7 separate regions of the Homo sapiens genome follow, and all the other regions are linked to region 1. Evidence: promoter capture Hi-C in 16 types of primary human blood cells and fetal thymus (Javierre and others, 2016). All regions are on one chromosome and are shown on one strand. The core of a region is centred on a gene start or on the middle of the fragment in contact, and the rest is flanking DNA. Distances in the headings are between cores, read along the strand shown. Region 1 holds the start of GLYR1 (glyoxylate reductase 1 homolog). Region 2 holds the start of C16orf89 (chromosome 16 open reading frame 89). Region 3 overlaps UBALD1 (UBA like domain containing 1). Region 4 overlaps ALG1 (ALG1 chitobiosyldiphosphodolichol beta-mannosyltransferase). Region 5 overlaps NAGPA (N-acetylglucosamine-1-phosphodiester alpha-N-acetylglucosaminidase). Region 6 overlaps MGRN1 (mahogunin ring finger 1). Region 7 overlaps MGRN1 (mahogunin ring finger 1).

Region 1 (2,700 bases), core at 1-2,500:
ATGCCTTGGGGAAATGCGTGTCGACTCGCCACCTTTGCCAGCTGGCAGTGACTCAACAAGAGCCCGACACCAAGTCTAAGTCAATCCTTAACACTGTGGAGTCTGTGATCGGGACTGGGATCTTTTGCAAAATTGTGATTCTACCTGGTCTGCTGAAGTTTGGGCCGACGCTGCGCTCAACTGCAGTTAACACTTCCCAGTTCATGGTTCAGTTTTAAAGTGTCCAAACTACGCCCGGCATCTGTCTTCCTGTTGTCACAACTTTTTCAAAAGTGCAAAACTAGGGCAAGGCTAACGAGAGAGCCCGGACCCGACAACGACACGCACCTTTGTCCCCAGCGCCGACGCGGGCCGCAGACGTCCCCCCGCGGCGGTCCTCATGCCGGTCCCCGGGCGGCGGCGCAGCTAGCGGTCGGCTGCTAAGCCGTGGCTCCCAGCGGGCGGGCGGCCCGCGCCTCGGCCCATGGCCGGGTCCCCGAGCCCAGGGGAGCCTGGTGTGCCGCGCCGCGCGCCGGCCCAGGAGGAAGCGAAGAAATGCCAACTCGACGTCCGCGCAGCCACTCCGGGGACACCAGGGGGTCGGGGGAGCAGCCTCCGGTCGCCCCAGGAGAACTTGCGGCGCGGGACCCCGCGCTCAGACGGCGCCTCCGAAAGCGGCCGTCGGGAGGAGCGCTCCAAAGAACACGGGCGGCGGGAGCGGACGGGCGCGGACACCGGGGCCTCCCGGCCTGCGGCCAAGCAGAGTTGCCGGGCGCGGGAGCCCAGACCCGGCGGAGGCTGAGTTCCAGGCCGCGCCGAGCTCCGTCAGGGTAGCTCACTGGCGCTGCGACGGGGCCGACCAGCGCCTCGGGCTCGGGAATGGCCCCGGGGCCCGCGCCGGACCAACGGGCGTAACGGAAGCGCCGAGAGGGGAGGGGCGCGGAGTCCAAGACCCGGGGGCGGGGCGAGCCGCGAGGCCGGCTCCCTCTCGCGCTCAGCCGGTCGCACCGTCGCCGCCGCCGCCGCCTCAGACCGCGGGCGCTTCGTTGTCACGAGCCGAAGGGAGGGGGAAGGAGCCGGGAGTCTCTGCGCTCCGGCGCGCGGAGACCGCGGCGCTCGCGTCACGTGCCCCTCGGTCGACCAATGATCCCCGGCGGGCGCGGTGACGTCAGAGTAGCGGCGTGGCCAGTGACAGCCGGCCCCCGTCACGTGGTCGGGCCCACTCCAATGGGCGGCGCCGGGGCGACTTGCTGTTCCCGGCGGCCCGTGCGTCGGCGGTGGTTGGGTGGTAAGATGGCGGCTGTGAGTCTGCGGCTCGGCGACTTGGTGTGGTGAGTCCGAGCGGCCGGGCCAACCGAGACGCGCCGGGGAGCTACCCGCCTGGGCGCGGGGTTCGCTGCCGGCCCTGGAGCTGCCTTTTTATGCGCTCCAGGTCGCGGAGAGAGGGGAAGAGAAGGTGCCGGCGCTTGCGAGCGGCGCCAGGCGGAAGGGGCAGTCCAGTCCCGGGGGACCGAGGCCGAGGGTGGCCACGTCGGGCACCGGCTTTGATCCCCGAGGCCGGCCGGGTGGGGTCTGCACTCGGGGCCCAGATACTGGCGGCCCCCGTGAAGGGAGCCGCCGGTGCCGCGAGGCTTCCCCGGACGACCGGTCCCCGGGGTCTTGTTGGGGCTTCCCAGAAAGCAGAAGCGCCGGGGACCGGACCTGCGAGATCTGGCCGGTGCCATTCGGTCAAAGCCCAGGTTGCGATGCAGCCGACCTGTGCGGCCGGCTCAGCCGGGGTTGTCTAAACCGGACTGCTGGCGTTGCCCCGCGAAGAAACGGCGGGGGGACTTCTCCTTTACAACCGATGGCTTGGCAGTGACCAGTGCACGCTTGGGTGCCTCCCGCGGTCTGCTTCTGTGTCCCAGACAACCGCCCGAACCAAGACTTTGTCGCCGCCTCCCTCGAGCTGCGTAGCTTGTTTCTCCACCCAGAGGAAGGCTTCCATTAGCATTTGTCAAAGCCAGGCAGGTCTCCTGTTGAATTAAACCAGACTTAGGGAGGGAAAGTCTGTGTTTACAGAGGAAGCTGTCCTCCCACCCCCGTCATTAAGAAGCTCTAGACAAGTGACTTTTGACAGTTGTGTTGTTCTGTATTCCTTGTCAACAGAAGAATGGATATGCGTTGTGCACATAAGTATACAATTTTGCATTTTACTTCTGAGGGTGTTGGGCCCAGCTATGAAAGCTTTTGTTTCGGCATTTGAGGATGCCAGCAGAGATTTAGGAAAATAAATTGCGTATTGAGTGGGTTGAAGGAGATGGACTGGCTTTTGCAGGGCAAGTGTTGACTCTTTGTGTTTTCTCTAGGGGGAAACTCGGCCGATATCCTCCTTGGCCAGGAAAGGTGAGTGTCTTGCTACTAAAGGAAGAGATCTGAAGTTGGGTTTGAAGAGGTGGAGAATGTAAGATGCATTCCTCTCAGTTTCTAGTATTGAGTTAAATTGGGCTCATTCAGATGGCACTTAGAATTTTTTTTCCCCTAGTATCGGTTATTTTTTAAAAGGCAATGCAGTATACACCAGATCATTAAATCTTCTCTAAACCCTTATTTCTGGATTTAGAGGAGGTTTATGAAGTTTCTTTTTTAACCCCGGAAATAATTCTAGTCTGAATTTAGCTTTATGCTTAAATGTAACAAAAGGAGAAGAAAATATAAATTATCCAGGAAGAAAGTCTAAAT
Region 2 (2,700 bases), core at 12-2,511, 220 kb before region 1:
TCTTTATAAATTACTCAGTCTCAGGTATTCTGTTGTAGTAGCACAAAACTAAGACACTGCCCAGTATACCAGCTACATGTGACTATCAAGCCCCTGAAATATGGATAGTCTGAATTGAAATGTGCTTAGCCTGGCATGGTGGCTTACATCTGGAGTGCCAGCTCCTTGGGAGGCTAAAGCGCGAGGGTCCCTTGAGCCTAGGAGCTCGAGACTGCAGTGAACTATGACCACATCACTGCACTCCAGCCTGGGCAACAGAATGAGACCCTGTCTCTTAAAAATAAAATAACAAAATAAAACAATTGTGTTGTGAACATAAACTACTCATCAATTTCAAAGACTTAGTATGACAAAAATAAAAACAAATCATTTCTATATTGATTACAGATGTAATTATAATATTTTAAATAACTGGGTCAAATAAACTAGATCGTTAAAATTAACTTCACCTGCTTATTGCTGCTTTCTTAGATGTGGCTACTAGGAAATTTCGAAATGCACACATGGCTCATCTTTGTAGCTCCAATTCTATTTCAATTGGACGGTGCCCCTTTAAGGAAGTTTGCCTCAGTTCAAGGCAGACGTGCCCTCAAATGAGTTTGTTTCAAATTTATTTAAAACAAAGCCTGGGTGTGGTGGCTCCAGCCTGTAATCCCAGCACTTTGGGAGCCCAAAGAAGGTGGCTCGCTTGAGGCCAGCGGTTCAAGACCAGCCTGATCAACATAGTGAGACCCTGTCTCTATTAAAAAAAGCTACAAAAATTAGGCAACATGGTGGCACATGCCGATTGTCCCAGCTATTCAGGAGGCTGAGGCAAGAGGATCTATTGAGCCCAGGAGGTCAAGGCTACAGTGAGCTGTGATCAAACCACTGCACTCCAGCCTAGGCAAGAGAATGAGACCCTATTTCAAAAAACAAAGAAAAAAAAATTCGTTTTGCTTTCAGAGCTTTTGGATTTCTGGGTTGAATTGCAATTGCTAGATCAAAGATCTAGCCTGTGAGCCTGGAGAATCAGGGCTGAGAAGGACAGGGCGGGCAGCCCTCTCCCCAGCATCCCGTGGACAGCAGGCTCTACGCCCAGGACTGGCCTAACCTCCGCTGCCTAACCGTCATCCCCCTGCAGCCACCCTTCCCAGAGTCCTTTGCCCAGGCCACCCCAGGCTTCTTGGCAGCCCTGCCGGGCCACTTGTCTTCATGTCTGCCAGGGGGAGGTGGGAAGGAGGTGGGAGGAGGGCGTGCAGAGGCAGTCTGGGCTTGGCCAGAGCTCAGGGTGCTGAGCGTGTGACCAGCAGTGAGCAGAGGCCGGCCATGGCCAGCCTGGGGCTGCTGCTCCTGCTCTTACTGACAGCACTGCCACCGCTGTGGTCCTCCTCACTGCCTGGGCTGGACACTGCTGAAAGTAAAGCCACCATTGCAGACCTGATCCTGTCTGCGCTGGAGAGAGCCACCGTCTTCCTAGAACAGAGGCTGCCTGAAATCAACCTGGATGGCATGGTGGGGGTCCGAGTGCTGGAAGGTGAGTGAGCCCCAATTCCTCTGGCTGGACACTGGGAAGCTAGCTCTCAGCTTTGTCCCCTGCCCTGCTCTGTACGCCTGGGACCTGGCAGACTCCTGGCCCCAGTATAGCCTGCCTCGGCTATAAGGAGAGAGGAGGCCAGGGGCTGGATCTTCCTGGCGGCTGTGGCCCAGCTAACTGTTACGCAATTTTTTAGAAGTAGGAAAGATTTAAAGGCAACATGGGAAGGGATTTGGGAATTATCTTTTTCTCAGAATGAAATGATCCATTTGACAGCCCCTCCTCACAACGCCACGAACAAGGGGAGCAGGGAGAGTGCCCCGTTAACAGATATTTGTGGGAAGACCCCTCCCCTTGAATGAGGTGGCTGTGGACAAAACTGAGGACCCTCAAGATCGGGTTCCCACCCCACTTCCTCCACTTGCAGCCAAAGTCTCCTGAAGGTTCTGCAAAAACAGTCAAGTGTTTGTTTAGCTTTGAGAGCTATAAGATCCCCAAGAAGGGGGCTGGAGACAGGCCAAGGTAAACACACACATGCGCACATCATGCACACACACACAAGCACACATGCACGCACGCACACACACATGCACATCACACACACAAGCACGCATGCACGCATGCACACAAGCATATCACACACACACACAAGCACACAGGTGGCTCCCACAGGGCTGGGTGCTTCCTGGGGCGCATGTGATAGCAAAAGCTGTAGTTCACTAAGTATCTGCTCAATGTGGGCACAACCCAGGTGCATTGCATGGGGTACTTCAGTGCCCTCTCCCCGTCATCCCTGAGGTTACACCCATTATTATTATCCTCTTTTAGCAAAGAAGGGAGGGGGTTCTCTTAATCATGACTGGGCAGCATTCACTGGGAAAGCGGCCCCACCTAACAGCCTCAGACCAGGGTCCCCACTCCTTGGCAGCTGCAGTGAGCCCGGCTTCTCCACCCACGCCACATCCCACATCCACTGCCCCTTCTCCTCTCAATAATCTTGCTCCATAACAGATTCCCTAGGAATTCAGTGCTTAATACAACCACACCCGTGAACTGTGCCCAGAAGGGAGCAAAGGCAGTGCCAGTGCCTAGAACAGAGCTTCAGAACTGGACTGCCCAGGTTCAAATCCTGGATCTCCCCCAACTGGCTGCATGGCACTGAGTTAACTGCTCTCGTGGAGTTT
Region 3 (2,700 bases), core at 1-2,500, 240 kb after region 1:
TGGCACGTGCCTGTAGTCCCAGCTACTCGGGAGGCTGAGGCAGGAGAATCACTTGAACTAGAAGGCAAAGGTTGCAGTGAGCCCAGATAACGCCACTGCACTCCAGCCTGGTGACAGAGCGAGACTCCGTCTCAAAAAAAAAAAAAAAAAAAATCTAAATAGCCTCCCACCCATACCCCCTGATCGAGGGCAGGCCCCAGGAGCCAGGCTGGATTTCTGGGTGTGCTGGGCCTGGGAGGGCCAGGAAGTCAAGCTGGCATTAGGGGAGTGGGCCTGAGGGGTGGCGGTAGGGGCACCTCGGCGGCTTGAAGCTCCAAGTCTGGGCCTGGGACTTGGCAGGGCCCCGAGAACCCCTCAAATACTTGTGGGGCTCCCTCACTGGCCCTTGCGCAAGAGCAGCCTCCGTTTCCTGGGACAGGCCTCCCCACCCCTGCAGGGCCTCAGCCAGGACATAGCAAATCCCAGCGCCTCCCTCTGGGGCTCCTCAGTTCCCAGTCACCAAGGACCTCTGGAGCCTGCTGAGCTGACACACACAGGAAAGGGCTCCAGGCTCGCTCTGTCTCCCCCACCTGTCCTGGCCTTTCTGAGCGCCCCCATCTCTGTCTTCTGCCGACCAGCTGACCCTGAGCAAGTCACTTCCTACCTTCATTTCCCTGCCTGTAAGACAGCAGTCCCTGCCTGTGGGGTTAATGATGACAGTCCACGGCCCCGCTGGGATGGAGCCCTGCTGGGTGCCCGCACCGTGCTCAGTGTGGCATGCGGCCCGGGTGTGGAGGGAGACGGTGGAGCATCCCGTGCCTAGCGTGGTGCCAGCCAAGGGCGGGTGGCTGGGGAGCTGTGCTGGGAGCTGTCGTAAACCCGTGGTGGCTTTGATCCTAGGGCCGTCTTTCTGCTCCACTTCCCGGGCACTGTTCCGAGGGAGGCTCAGGTGGGGAAGCGAGTGAGCCTAAAGCCCAGGCTTGTCTCCTTGGTGCCAGGCCCTGCTTGCTGGAATCTGGTGATCTTAGGAGGTCACTGTTGCAAGGGAGGGGACCCAGGAGCCACCTAGTCGAACCTCTTTGTGGTACAGATGGAGAAACCAAGGCCCAAACAGTGGCCCCCTTGATCAGCCAGAAGCAGAGCTGGGTGGGGCAGCAGGGGATCCCCACCACCAGGCTCAGACTCCTTCAGGATGCTTTTGCTTCGCAGATGAGGAGACCGAGGCTTAGAGAAGAGTAGAGACTTGCTACCCGTTGAGGTGGTAACAGCCAGGCTAGAATCTCCTGAAACGGGGCAGGGTGGGGAGGTCTGGTTGGGCTACCTGGGGCCGGGCGCCTTTCCCCCAGGATGGGGTGTACTGCCCGCCCTCCCCCAGTCATGGTGCTGGTGCCAGCTGGTGCAGGGGGAGGGCTCTGCAGGCCTTAGGCACTGAGGCAGGTGGCGAGCAGCAGGGGAAGGGTCTTCTCCACCCACCCCAACTGCCCAAGGTTCCGTGGCTCCTCCTTAGACAGCAGTGAGGGTTGGGGGTGACAGGCAAGCCACTGAGCCTCAGCACCGCGACTCACCCCTCCCACTCAGCAGTCCAGCCAGGGTCATCCCCAGCCTCAGAGGAGCCTGGGAACAAGGGCAGCGGCAGGGCCGGCGGGGGCCTGGAGGGTGAGCAGGGGCCTTTCTTCCTGCAGACAGCCCTCAGCGCCTTTTTCCAGGAGACCAACATCCCCTACAGCCACCATCACCACCAGATGGTAAGTGTCCCCGGAGTCCCCAGTTCTGGATTGGGCGGAAGGAGGCCGAGCTAGTTCTGTGTATAAGCAGCCCCTGGCCCCGGTGTACGAGGGCGCTGGTGCAGGCGGGGCTCGACCTCTTTGGAGATGGGTCAGCAGGAGTCCCGGCTCCGTGGGTCCTGCACTTAATCTTGCCTGTGCCAGCTCCCCCTGAGACCTGGGGGGCGCTGGCCTCTGGGGCAATGAAGCTCCTTACCCTACAGCCCCCGGGGATGCTGTGGCTGATGGAAAGGGGTGGGCTGGGAAAGCCTCGTGGCCCCAGGCACCGTGGGCTCCTGAGAGTGAGGCTGGGTCGGTTCATCTCAAGGCTTCTCCTCTGGGAACCCCTGGGCGGCGGACAGGCTTGGGGATCTGGGGAAGGAACACAGAGCCTTCCGAGAATGGGCCAGCCACGCATCTCCCCTTGGGAGGCAGTGGGGGCCCCTCCAGGAAGGGGTGCTCACCCCATCTCTCCTCTCTTCCCCTCACAGATGTGCACCCCCGCCAATACCCCTGCTACACCCCCCAACTTCCCTGACGCTCTCACCATGTTCTCCCGTCTCAAGGCCTCCGAGAGCTTCCACAGCGGTGGCAGCGGCAGCCCGATGGCCGCGACAGCCACGTCACCCCCGCCACACTTCCCCCATGCCGCCACCAGCAGCTCTGCGGCCTCCAGCTGGCCCACGGCGGCCTCGCCCCCGGGGGGCCCACAGCACCACCAGCCACAGCCGCCCCTGTGGACTCCAACACCCCCTTCTCCGGCTTCAGACTGGCCACCCCTGGCCCCCCAACAGGCCACCTCAGAACCCAGGGCCCACCCTGCCATGGAGGCAGAGAGATAAGGGAGGCCCCTCCCCCCTCCCGGAGGCCAGGACCCCGTGGGGCGGGGGAGAGGACGTCTCTGCGGGCCCCCTTCACCCCTTTTCTGTCTGCACCCCTTGTTCCCCGGAGCCCTGGA
Region 4 (2,840 bases), core at 271-2,770, 240 kb before region 1:
TCTACACATTCATGTCTGTACTACTTCATTCTTATAAATACGCATTTTCCACTCGTAACAAAAAACTGTGATTGAAAATCGTCCCGGGTCACAGTGTCTCACGCCTGTAATCCCAACACTGTAAGAGGCTGAGGCTTTGGGAGGCTGAGGTGAGCAGATCACGGGAGGTCGAGTTCAAGACCAGCCTGGCCCACATGGTGAAACCCCATCTCTACTAAAAACACAAAAATTAGCCAGGCGTGGTGGTGCACGCCTATAGTCAAAGCTACTCGGGAGACTGAGGCAGGAGAATCACTTGAACCTGGGAGGCGTTGCAGTGAGCTGAGATTGTGCCACTGCACTCCAGCCTGGGGAACAGAGTAAAACTTCGTCTAAAAACAAATAATAAAAGAGGCTGAGGCAGGAGCATCACTTGAGGCCATGCGTTCAGGACCCCATCTCTACAAAATAAAAAAATTACTGGCATGGTGGCACGCACCTGTCATCCCAGCTACTCAGGAAGTGGGAGGATTGCTAGAGCCCAGGAGTCGAGGCTGTAGTGAGCAATGACTGTGCCACTGCACTCCAGCCTGGGTGACAGAACAAGATCATATCTCAAAACAAAAAAAAAGAATCATTCTGGCTAACGGCTCTTCAGACATCTGTGCTTATGAGAACAGCAGCCCCTTCTAAGCTGTGTGTGTGTGTGGGTGTGTGTGTGGTGCGTGTGGTTTTTTTTTTTTTTTTTTGAGACTTAGTCTCACCCTGTCACTCAGGCTGGAGTGCAGTGGCACAATCTCAGCTCACTGCAACCTCCACCTCCTGGGTTCAAGCAATTCTCCCACCTCAGCCTCCCAAGTAGCTGGGATTACAGGCACTCGCCATCATGCCTGGCTAATTTCTGTATTTTTGTAGAGATGGGATTTCACCATGTTGGCCAGGCTGGTCTCGAACTCCTGACCTCAAGTGATCCGCCCGCCTTGGCCTCCCAAAGTGTTGGGATTACAGGCATGAGCCACTGTGCCCGGCCGCTTTCTAAGCTTTGTGAAGAGTGGGTTGACTATTCAGATCTCTGCTTCTGTCCCGCTGTGCCAAGTGCTGGGGCAGACACAGGCAGAGAGTGGACAGCGGCACGGTGCCTGCTGCTAGCCATTTCTATGCAAAACCAGCTTTCTGGTCCCATCCTGGAGGCCAATTCTAGGCACCTGGGTGGGCCTGGGAACCTGTGAACCAAGTAAACTGACTTGGACACCCCCCTACCCCGCCAGGCCTGTCCTAGCAGCCCCACACAATACCCTCATGTCCTGTCCCCAAACACCGCCATCCTCAAACACATGTGCTCTGTTTCCAGGCCGGGCCGGGATCAGATGGGAAGTGGAACCTCGTCATGAGCAGAAACTGTTTCCCTACGAAGAGCACTTGGAGATGGCAATGCTGAATCTCACCCTGTAGGACTCACACACGACTCCAACGGGATTGTGAGAATCAAGTCACTCTCATGGGAAGAATTTTTATATGGGAAAGCGGATAAAACTTTCATTGGACTGGAATGTTTGGAGAATGTTAATTTCCAAATCAGGAACCACAAACTGCCCTCTAATAAGACATCGGCTATCTAAGCGTGTGGGTGCCCCCTTTCTGCCAGCAGTTCTGGTTCTTAAGAAAATCACCATAAATCAGACATGAAAATTCTGGCTCCAAAAATAGCATTTTCTTTGTGCAAATAAAAACGTGTGTATCAAGTATGATGTTCCCCCAACGTGGACACACTCAGTTCCTCACAAAGCCAAGCCCACTGCAGCTGCCACATCCCTGGGCTTACGGTGCAGCAGGTGCTTTTTTCAAGACAGGAATCAAAATGTTAGGAACACGGCAGAAAGGGGACACCTGGAGACCAAACGCAGGATGAGGAGTTCTGCAGAGGTCACAGGGAAGTCACAGAACAGTAATACGCTAGCAGGGGCATGGGGCGTGAAGAACAGAAGAAGAGAGGAAGCGTTTCCAAGCCTCCAGAGAAGAAATCAAGGCCAACCAAAGCTTCCCGGGTCACAGAACCAATTCTTTTACCAGGCAGTACCACTGCTGTCATTTCAGCTTCTGGCCACTGGGAGGTGCTGCTCGAAAGGGTTTGCCCTGAGACTCCAAGAAGAAGCTGCGGGAAGGACAGCAGGGGTCCTGGGGTTTTAGCCTCTGGCCCAGGAGTTATGTGTCCATAACCAAAGGGAGCACAGTCTGCACCCAGCTCTCATCCCATCGGAGCTGCTGCGACTCCCGCAGGTTCTTCCGGAACTGGTTTAGCTTGCCCGCAGGATCAGGAAAGTTTGAGAAAAGCATCTGCAAAAAAATAAAGAGCAGAGCTTACCTCATTGCCTGTCCCCACCCCATCCCAGGTCACCACCTGGCTGACCCCAGGTCCCCGACCCAACAACAACCCCTCCCAAGTCCCTAACTCCCTCACTTGGACTCGAGACCCTTCACACCCCAGCAGCACTCCGCCTCCAACTTGACATCACAGTTTCTGGAAACTTCCCCGCATGTCCCACTTTCCCACACTTGGTGCCCTGGAGCACCTCCCGGCCTCTACGTGCTGCCCATTCCCCTGTGAGCACCCTCCTCTCGGCCTCTGGCCAACGCAGTCTCACCCATCTGTGGGTAACAAGGGGGTGTCGGTGTTCTTTGCAGCCTTGCTAAACTGTCTGAATCAAGGATCACAAACTACAGCCTGCAGGCCAAATCCAGCCCACAGCCTGTGTTTGTAAATAAAGTTTTATTGGAACAAAGCCACACCCCTTAATCTACAGATGATCTGTGGCTACTTTCACACCCCAACAGAGTACCATGGTTCTGACAGAGACTGGGGA
Region 5 (2,700 bases), core at 157-2,656, 180 kb before region 1:
TCTGTCCCCCCTCCCAGGGCCCCCTCACCTTCCCACAGGATGAGGGTTCTGAGATCTTTGCCGATTCCAAGAACTCATCATCTTCAGCTTTAGGCCTCACCTTTCCTGAACCCTAGATAGGATACAAGGAAATGGTCACAAAGTGAGCAGGGAGAAGATCTTGGTTCCAATCCCAGCTTAGCCATCGATGACTTGTCTACCCACCTATGCCGTAGACAAGTCCCTCGGCCTCCCTGAGCCTCATTTCTAGCCCCTGTAAAGAGAGTGTTTTGGTTTGCTCTGGTTGCATAACCAGCACAAATTTAGCAACACTCAGCAGGGAATGTTCTTTTGTTTGTTTGTTTCTTTGAGACAGGGTCTTACTCCGTCGCCCAGGCCAGAGTGCAGTGGTGCAATCTCAGCTCACTGCAACCTCTACCTCTCAGGTTCAGGTGATCCTCCCACCTTAGCCTCCCAGGTAACTGGGATTACGGGCACCCGCCACCACACCCAGCTAATTTTTGTATTTTTAGTAGAGATGGGGTTTCATCATGTTGGCCAGGCTGGTCTCGAACTCCTGACCTCAGGTGATCCATCTACCTCGGCCTTCCAAAGTGCTGGAATTAACAGGCGTGAGTCACCGCACCTGGCTAATTTTTGTATTTTTAGTAGACACAGGGTTTCATCATGTTGGCCAGGCTGGTCAACTTGGAATGTTCTATGTTCAGGGTGTCCCATGGACAAAACCAAGATGCTGGTTAGGCAGGGCTCTTCTCTTATCTGGAAAGAATCCTCTTGTTTAGGTTGTTGGAAGAATCCCCGTCGCCTCCTCAGTTGTGACTGAGGTCTTGGTTTCCCTGCTGGCCGCCATCTGGGGCCTCAGCTCCTTCAAGCTGCCCAGGTTCCTTCCCATGTGTGTCCTCTCCCCCAGTTGTCCGGCCACCCTCTCATCCCCCTCGTATTTCAAATCTCACTTCCTATTCTGTCACCAGCCAGAGAAGGCTCTCTGTGTTGAACACTCCTGTGATTCCAGTGGCTGCACCCAGATCCTCCGGGCCGTTTCCCCTCCCTTAAGGATTCCTATGCCATGTAACAGCACAGGCATGGGTGTGATCTCACGTGTTCACAGCTTCCGGGGGCTAGGATGAGACATGCTTGGGGGCGGGGGCCACTTAGAAATGTGCCTGCACTGTGGGCGTGATGCTCTGCACTGTGGAAGGAAAAGGAGTTAAATGAGAAATGATGGTGGGCGCTGAGCCTGAGCAGCGCCGCTTTGTGCCGCAGCATCAACCTGTGGGAAATGGCGGAGTTCCTGCTGAAACAGGACGTGGTCAACGCCATCAACCTGGATGGGGGTGGCTCTGCCACCTTTGTGCTCAACGGGACCTTGGCCAGTTACCCGTCAGATCACTGGTAAGCACGTGAGAGCCGCCTTCGTGAGGGCTGAAGTCCAGGTCTGCCCCAGCCTGTCTCATTCAGCCAATATTGAGTGCCTGCTATGTGCCAGGCCCCGGGGGTTCAAGAGAGCAGAAATTGCTGCAGTCCCTCCCCCAGGATGCCAGTACTACCCAGGCCTAGGAGCAGGGTCAGTTGGTCAGCAAAGACCTCCCTGAGGATGACAGAATAAGAACTGAGATCTGAAGGAGGTGGTAGCTGGGTGGGGGTGGGAGAGCCTTCCGGGCAGAGGGCACCACATGTGAAAGGCCCAGGGCTGGGAGGGATTGTAGGGAGCGGAGGAACCTATAAAAGACTGGAGAGGGCTGGGCACAGGGGCTCACGCCTGGAATCCCAGTGCTTTGGGAGGCCGAGGTGGGAGGTTCGCTTGGGCCCAGGAGTTTAAGACCAGTGTGGGCAACATAGACCCTGTCTTTATGAAAAAATAAAAAAAAATTAGGCAGGCGTGATGGTGCACACCTTACGGTTACAGCTGCTCAGGAGGCTCGGGTGGAAGGATCGCAATACCTCATCTCAAAAATAGATAGACGCCATCTTGTAGGTAGGTAGGTAGACAGGTGAGAATGGAGAGAGGGGTGGTTGGGGGCAGCCTGGAGGGAGTTGAGGGGCCGTCTGGGGGTGTCCTCTCCTCACACATCACATCCCTCTACAGCCAGGACAACATGTGGCGCTGTCCCCGCCAAGTGTCCACCGTGGTGTGTGTGCACGAACCCCGCTGCCAGCCGCCTGACTGCCACGGCCACGGGACCTGCGTGGACGGGCACTGCCAATGCACCGGGCACTTCTGGCGGGGTCCCGGCTGTGATGAGCTGGACTGTGGCCCCTCTAACTGCAGCCAGCACGGACTGTGCACGGAGAGTGAGTGGGGGTTCTGGGGAGGGGGCTCTGCCCAGCCCTGCCTTGCCCTAGGCCCTCACCTGGCCTCCCCGGTCTTGTCTCGGCAGCCGGCTGCCGCTGTGATGCCGGATGGACCGGGTCCAACTGCAGTGAAGGTAGGAGCTGCCACGCCACTAGCGGATGGGGAGACGGTGGCCCCCGGCAGCCCCCACTGCTCCTCTGCTGCTTCTGTCTCCACCTTCTGGTCTGGGAAATGCTTGCCTCTTGTCTTCTGCCCCGGCCTCACCTGCACATCACTGTGTGACTCCCCTGTGGCTGCTGCGGCCCGTTCCACAAAGGGCTCGGCTAAAACAAGGGTCCCCGGGCTCTGGCTCCAGGGCCCACCTCAAATCCAGCACGGTCTTATCTTGAGATCCTAACTGCAGTGCC
Region 6 (2,700 bases), core at 178-2,677, 220 kb after region 1:
CCCAGGCTGGAGTACAGTGGGGCAATCATAGCTCACTGCAGCCTCGACCTCCTGAGCTCAAGCAATCCTCCCACCTCAGCCCACCAGGTAGCTAGGACTAAAGGTGGACGCCACCACACCCAGATAATTTTTTTATTTTTTGTAGAGACAAGGTTTTGCCGTGTTGCCCAGGGTGGTCTCAAACTTCTGAGCTCAAGTAATCTGCCTGCCCTGGCCTCCCAAAGTGCTGGGATTACAAATGTGAGCCACCACGCCTGGCCGTGAGTGACTGTTTCATGGCCACTGGGTTTCTTTTTGGTGTGATGAAGATGTTCTGGAATTAGACAGTGGTGATGGCTGCACAACACAAGTATACCAAAAACCACTGGTCCCGGCACGGTGGCTCATGCCTGTAATCCCCGCATTTTGGGAGGCCGAGACGGGCGGATCAAGAGGTCAGGAGATCGAGACCATCCTGGCTAACACGGTGAAACCACATCTCCACTAAAAATACAAAAAAATTAGCCAGACGTAGTGGCGGGTGCCTGTAGTCCCAGCTACTCAGGAGGCTGAGACAGGAGAATGGCGTGAACCCGGGAGGCAGAGCTTGCAGTGAGCAGAGATTGCGCCACTGCACTCCAGCCTGGGCGACAGAGCAAGACTCCGTCTCAAAAACAAACAAACAAACAAAAAAAACCACTGGACTAGATGTTCTCAGTGTGACTCGTATGCTGTGAATTAGATCTCAACAAAACTGTTATTAAGAATAGCCGGGCGCAGTGGCTCATGCCTGTAATACCAGCTCTTCCGGAGGCTGAGGTAGGCGGGTCAAAAGGTCAATAGATCAAGACCATCCCTGCCAACATGGTGAAACCCATCTCTACTAAAAATACAAAAATTAGCTGGGCGTGGTGGCATGCACCTGTAGTCCCAGCAACACAGGAGGCTGAGGCAGGAGAGAATCACTTGAACCTGCGAGGCAGAGGTTGGAGTGAGTCAAGATTGCGCCATTGCCCTCCAGCCTGGGTGACAAGAGCAAGACTCCATCTCAAAAAAAAAAAAAAAAAAAAAAAAGGAAATTTTTTATCACTACTAGATTGGGAAGGCAATATATCAGTAATAGATTGGCAAATATCACTTGCCTTAAATAGGTAAAGTTATCTGAAAAAAAAAAACAACTGAGAAGCTAAATATCAAAATTAATGTAGAGATATACCATGTTCATGGATTCCCAGAGTCAGCACTGTAAAGACAGCAATTCTCACCACATAGATTTATATATCCAATGTAATACTTATCAAAATTGCAGGCTGCTTTTGTAGAAATAATTGACAGGCTAATTATAAAATGTATATGGAAATGCAAAGAACTTAGCATAACCAAAACAATTTTGAAAGAGAACAAAGTTGGAGAACTTATGCTACCTGATTTCACAACTTACTATCAAACTACTGTAAACAAGCCAGTGTGCTGCTGGTCTAAGAACAGACCAGGATTTCTCAGTCTAAGCACTATGGATATTCTGGGCCGATTTATTCTTAATTGTGGGGGACTGTCCTGTGGCCTCTACCCAACAGATGCCCCCAGCTGTGACAATCACAAATGTCTCCAGACATGGCCAAATGTCCCTTGAGAGGGCAAAAATGCCCCAGTTGAGAACTTCTGGGACACACATAAATCAATGGAACAGAATGGAGAGTCCCAAAATAAACCCTCACATTCATGGTTAACTGGTGGGGTTCTTGTCGCTGTTGTTTTGATTTTTAAGAGACATGGTCTTGCTTTGTTATCCAGCCACAATGCCTGGCTTAGGTCAACTAATTTTTGACAAAGGTGCAAAGGCAATTTGATGGGAAGATGATAGTCTCTACAACAAATGATACTAAAATAATTGAATTCCATCCACAAAAAAGGGGGGTTTAGATCTTTATCTCAAGCCATAAGTGAAACAAATTAATTTGGTCAGCTACAGCGGCTCACACCTGTAATCCCAGCACTCTGGAAGGCCAAGGTGGGCAGATTGCTTGAGTCCAGGACTTTGAGGCCAGCCTGGACAACACGGTGAAACCCTGTCTCTACAAAAAAAATACAAAAACTTTGCTGGGCATAGTGGTACACATACATAGCTGGGAAAACCCAGCTACTTGGGAGGCTGAGGTGGGAGAATCACCTGAGCCAGGAAGTCAAGGCTAGAGTGACATCATGCCGCTATACTCTAGCCTGAATGACAGAGTAAGACCCTATCTCAAAATTAAAAAAAAAAAAAAAAAAAAGAATTAACTCTAAATGGATCAAAGACCTAAATGTAAGAGCTAAAACTATAAAACTTCTAGAAAAGGCCGGGCACAGCGGCTCACGCCTGTAATCCCAGCAATCTGGGAGGCCAAGGCAGGCAGATCACAAGGTCAGTTTGAGATCAGCCTGGCCAATATGGTGAAAACCCCGTCTCTACTAAAAAATCCAAAAATTAGCCGGGCGTGGTGGCTCGCACCTGTAATCTCAGCTACTCAGTAGGCTGAGGTAGAAGAATCGCTGGAACCCGGGCAGAGGCTGCAGTGAGCTAAGATCATGCCACTACACTCCAGCCTGGGTGACAGAGGGAGACTCCATCTCAAAAAAAACCAACAACAACAACAACAACAAAATGCTAGAAAAAAATAGGAGAAAATCTTTGTGACCTTGACCTAGGCAAAGATTTCTTTTCTTTCTATTTGTTTTTTT
Region 7 (2,700 bases), core at 91-2,590, 200 kb after region 1:
CCTCGGCCACCTGGCCTCGGGCCTTCCAAGGTGGCCTCCTGGCCTCTCCACACTGCCAGCCTCAACACCCTTCCCTGGACGGCTCCTCGCTGCTCCCAGCCCATCAGCCAGCATCCAGCTCCAACACCACTTTCTTCTGTAGTGGCCTGAGCTGTGTTTCCGATGAAGTTCGGGTCCTACTCCACACCCAGCCCCTACCTGTGCATGTGACCTTATTTGGATCTAGGGTCTTTGCAGATGTAATCAAGTTAAGAGGAGGTCATACTGGATTGAGGGGCTCTAAATCCAGTGACTGGTTCTTAACAGAAGAAAGGAGAGGGAGGTTTGGACGCAGACTTGAAGGGAAGGCCAAGGGAAGAGATGGAGGCAAGAGATTGCAGTGATGCGGCCACAAGCCCAGGGATGACAATGAGTGCCTGGGGCCCCAGGAGTGGGGAGAGGTAAGGAAGAGTCCTCCCCCAGCGCCTTCGGGGACCGTGGCCCTGCTGGCACCTCGGTTTCTGACGTGTGCCTCTGTGATGGTGAGAGAATACATTTCTGCTGTTTCAAGCCACGGTTAGAGGTCATTTGTCACAGCCACCCCAAGAAATCCTTACACATTTCGTGACCCCAGGCTAAGTCACCTTACCCCCAAATCTGAGCCCTGTGTACTTTCCATGGCAGCACCCAGCCGGGTTTAGAAGTCTCTGTGGATCTGGGCTAGTTCGTTCAGTCTGACTCCCGCGTGAGGGCGGGAGGCTGTAGGTGGCGCCCATCAGGACCCTGGCACACTTAGGCATGAGATCTGCGCTTCTCCTATGAGGAGGGGATGGACAGCTGGGCATCCTCAGAGACCTGCGCTCACAGCCCTGCCAAGGAACACTGAGAGCATGGCCTCTCCCCTGGATTCCTGACCTGACGCCCAGATCCAGCCCCATTTCTCCTGGCACACAGCCCCGGAGAGGAGGACCCGGGTGACCACGGGAAGAGTCCCCGAGAGGAGGAGCCGGGTGACCACGGGAAGAGTCCCCGAGAGGAGGAGCCGGGTGACCACGGGAAGAGCCCCGGGAGGAGGACCCGGGTGACCACGGGAAGAGCCCCGGGAGGAGGACCCGGGTGACCACGGGAAGAGCCCCGGGAGGAGGAGCCGGGTGACCACGGGAAGAGTCCCCGAGAGGAGGAGCCGGGTGACCACGGGAAGAGCCCCCGGGAGGAGGACCCGGGTGACCACGGGAAGAGTCCCCGGGAGGAGGAGCCGGGTGACCACGGGAAGAGTCCCGGGAGGAGGACCCGGGTGACCACGGGAAGAGCCCCGGGAGGAGGACCCGGGTGACCACGGGAAGAGCCCCCGGGAGGAGGACCCGGGTGACCACGGGAAGAGCCCCGGGAGGAGCCCCCGGGTGACCACGGGAAGAGCCCCCGGGAGGAGGAGCCAGGTGACCACGGGAAGAGTCCCCGAGAGGAGGAGCCGGGTGACCACGGGAAGAGCCCCCGGGAGGAGGACCCGGGTGACCACGGGAAGAGTCCCCGGGAGGAGGAGCCGGGTGACCACGGGAAGAGTCCCCGAGAGGAGGAGCCGGGTGACCACGGGAAGAGCCCGCGGGAGGAGGAGCCGGGTGACCACGGGAAGAGTCCCCGGGAGGAGGAGCCGGGTGACCACGGGAAGAGTCTCCGAGGGGAGGACCCGGGTAGCTGCAGGGACCTGTGGATTTCAAGGATGCTCAGAATACATGGTCCTCAACCTCACGTATTGCAGGGACTTCTGGGAATTCTCAGAATTCCCACTGGGGGCCCCAGAATCCCTATTCCTTCTCAGAATTCCCACCTGAGGCCAGGTGGGCCCTTCCCGGGGCCTTCAGCGGGAATTCTGAGACCTTCAGGCGCTGCATGGTCTGTGTCCTTCCCGAGAACCACGGCCCCAGTTACAGTTGGCACAGCCACGGCCACCAAGACCAGCCGGGCCCCAACAGTGATTCCAGGGTGCTCCTCCTGAGGGAGGTGGCCCAGAGCCAGGTGCCCAGCATGGCTGCTGACTGCCAGGAACAGTGGTTGGGAGCCGCAGCCCCACCTAACCCAGCATGCAGAACAGGGACCACTGAGAGCTGATGACGACCAAAAACAAAGAAGAAAGCGGCAACTGCTTCAGCAAGTGGGACGCCCTGATTTTATGGCCCACCACACAGCTGCTGGAACCAAGCTGATCCAGACATACCGATGTGGAGCGAGTCACAGAGTATTTGCAGGTTAAAGAAAACAAGTTAACACACTGCAAGATCATTTTCTGAGGGGTCACCGCACGCACTGAGATGTGCGCAACACAAATTGTGAATACACAGAGAATGTTCTGGAAGGACACGCCCACAAGGCTGCCAGGGAAATTGGTGCAGAGCAGACGAGGGGTGGAGCAAAGCCTATGTGGTGGTTTTAAATCAAAAGAAAGAAAGAACACCTGCAGTACAGTGAGCCCAGGATGCCTTCCCTGATTACCTGGGCCTTGAACATAGCCCCACCACATTGAAATACACAAAGTCTTTAAAGGTGAATTTTCCACACAGCCTACGGGGCGGGGCCAGGGGCCACAAGGCACCCCGTGCCTCAGGGCACGGTGGTCTCCGGATGCTGGCCTCAGACCAACCTCAAGCCCCAGTCATGGAGCAGGGCTGAGACAGGGCCCGGCCCAGAGCCACCTGCCTGCTCCTCCAAGATGTGCACCATGTTCAT

The links. The method cuts DNA at HindIII sites, captures the fragments that hold promoters and counts their contacts. A CHiCAGO score of 5 or more calls a contact.
Region 2: the fragment with the promoter of C16orf89 here is called in contact with the fragment with the promoter of GLYR1 in region 1 in 1 of 17 cell types (M2 macrophages); the score reaches 6.5 in M2 macrophages.
Region 3: a fragment that was not itself captured here is called in contact with the fragment with the promoter of GLYR1 in region 1 in 3 of 17 cell types (neutrophils, fetal thymus and endothelial precursors); the score reaches 6.6 in neutrophils.
Region 4: a contact is called between a fragment that was not itself captured here and the fragment with the promoter of GLYR1 in region 1, in 1 of 17 cell types (M2 macrophages). The highest score is 5.9, in M2 macrophages.
Region 5: a contact is called between a fragment that was not itself captured here and the fragment with the promoter of GLYR1 in region 1, in 6 of 17 cell types (megakaryocytes, M2 macrophages, M1 macrophages and 3 more). The highest score is 22.6, in megakaryocytes.
Region 6: a fragment that was not itself captured here is called in contact with the fragment with the promoter of GLYR1 in region 1 in 1 of 17 cell types (neutrophils); the score reaches 7.4 in neutrophils.
Region 7: a contact is called between a fragment that was not itself captured here and the fragment with the promoter of GLYR1 in region 1, in 3 of 17 cell types (erythroblasts, neutrophils and megakaryocytes). The highest score is 6.3, in erythroblasts.

The regions. Positions count from the first base shown.
Region 1 is chr16:4,845,838-4,848,537 of GRCh38, reverse strand. It overlaps GLYR1 (glyoxylate reductase 1 homolog), which reads left to right and starts at 1,250. Exons shown (of 16, transcript NM_032569.4): 1 at 1,250-1,310; 2 at 2,328-2,364. The coding sequence starts at 1,273. It overlaps UBN1 (ubinuclein 1), which reads right to left and starts at 1,057. Exons shown (of 18, transcript NM_001079514.3): 1 at 328-1,057. RefSeq lists silencers at 377-466, 477-1,196 and enhancers at 249-1,091, 1,387-1,446, 1,747-1,806. The HindIII fragment of the contact is 6,120 bases long and covers 1-2,207 here.
Region 2 is chr16:5,064,517-5,067,216 of GRCh38, reverse strand. C16orf89 (chromosome 16 open reading frame 89) reads left to right here and starts at 1,261. Exons shown (of 8, transcript NM_001098514.3): 1 at 1,261-1,516. The coding sequence starts at 1,309. The HindIII fragment of the contact is 15,659 bases long and covers 1-2,700 here.
Region 3 is chr16:4,609,517-4,612,216 of GRCh38, reverse strand. UBALD1 (UBA like domain containing 1) reads left to right here. Exons shown (of 3, transcript NM_145253.3): 2 at 1,662-1,724; 3 at 2,234-2,700. The coding sequence ends at 2,584. Among named protein-coding and RNA genes, the nearest start is that of UBALD1, 4.0 kb to the left of the region's middle. RefSeq lists an enhancer at 480-1,115. The HindIII fragment of the contact is 5,022 bases long and covers 1-2,700 here.
Region 4 is chr16:5,084,223-5,087,062 of GRCh38, reverse strand. It overlaps ALG1 (ALG1 chitobiosyldiphosphodolichol beta-mannosyltransferase), which reads right to left. Exons shown (of 13, transcript NM_019109.5): 13 at 1-2,313. The coding sequence ends at 2,182. It overlaps EEF2KMT (eukaryotic elongation factor 2 lysine methyltransferase), which reads left to right. Exons shown (of 8, transcript NM_201400.4): 8 at 1,331-2,779. The coding sequence ends at 1,431. Among named protein-coding and RNA genes, the nearest start is that of EEF2KMT, 12 kb to the left of the region's middle. RefSeq lists an enhancer at 1,923-2,835. The HindIII fragment of the contact is 997 bases long and covers 1,022-2,018 here.
Region 5 is chr16:5,027,572-5,030,271 of GRCh38, reverse strand. NAGPA (N-acetylglucosamine-1-phosphodiester alpha-N-acetylglucosaminidase) reads left to right here. Exons shown (of 10, transcript NM_016256.4): 5 at 1,264-1,392; 6 at 2,087-2,292; 7 at 2,379-2,426. Among named protein-coding and RNA genes, the nearest start is that of NAGPA-AS1, 4.8 kb to the left of the region's middle. RefSeq lists an enhancer at 626-1,825. The HindIII fragment of the contact is 6,851 bases long and covers 1-2,700 here.
Region 6 is chr16:4,630,361-4,633,060 of GRCh38, reverse strand. The region is part of intron 1 of MGRN1 (mahogunin ring finger 1); the gene reads right to left. Among named protein-coding and RNA genes, the nearest start is that of MGRN1, 6.9 kb to the right of the region's middle. The HindIII fragment of the contact is 6,629 bases long and covers 1-2,700 here.
Region 7 is chr16:4,647,185-4,649,884 of GRCh38, reverse strand. All of the region lies in intron 1 of MGRN1 (mahogunin ring finger 1), which reads right to left. Among named protein-coding and RNA genes, the nearest start is that of MIR6769A, 23 kb to the left of the region's middle. RefSeq lists an enhancer at 2,236-2,700. The HindIII fragment of the contact is 6,118 bases long and covers 1-2,700 here.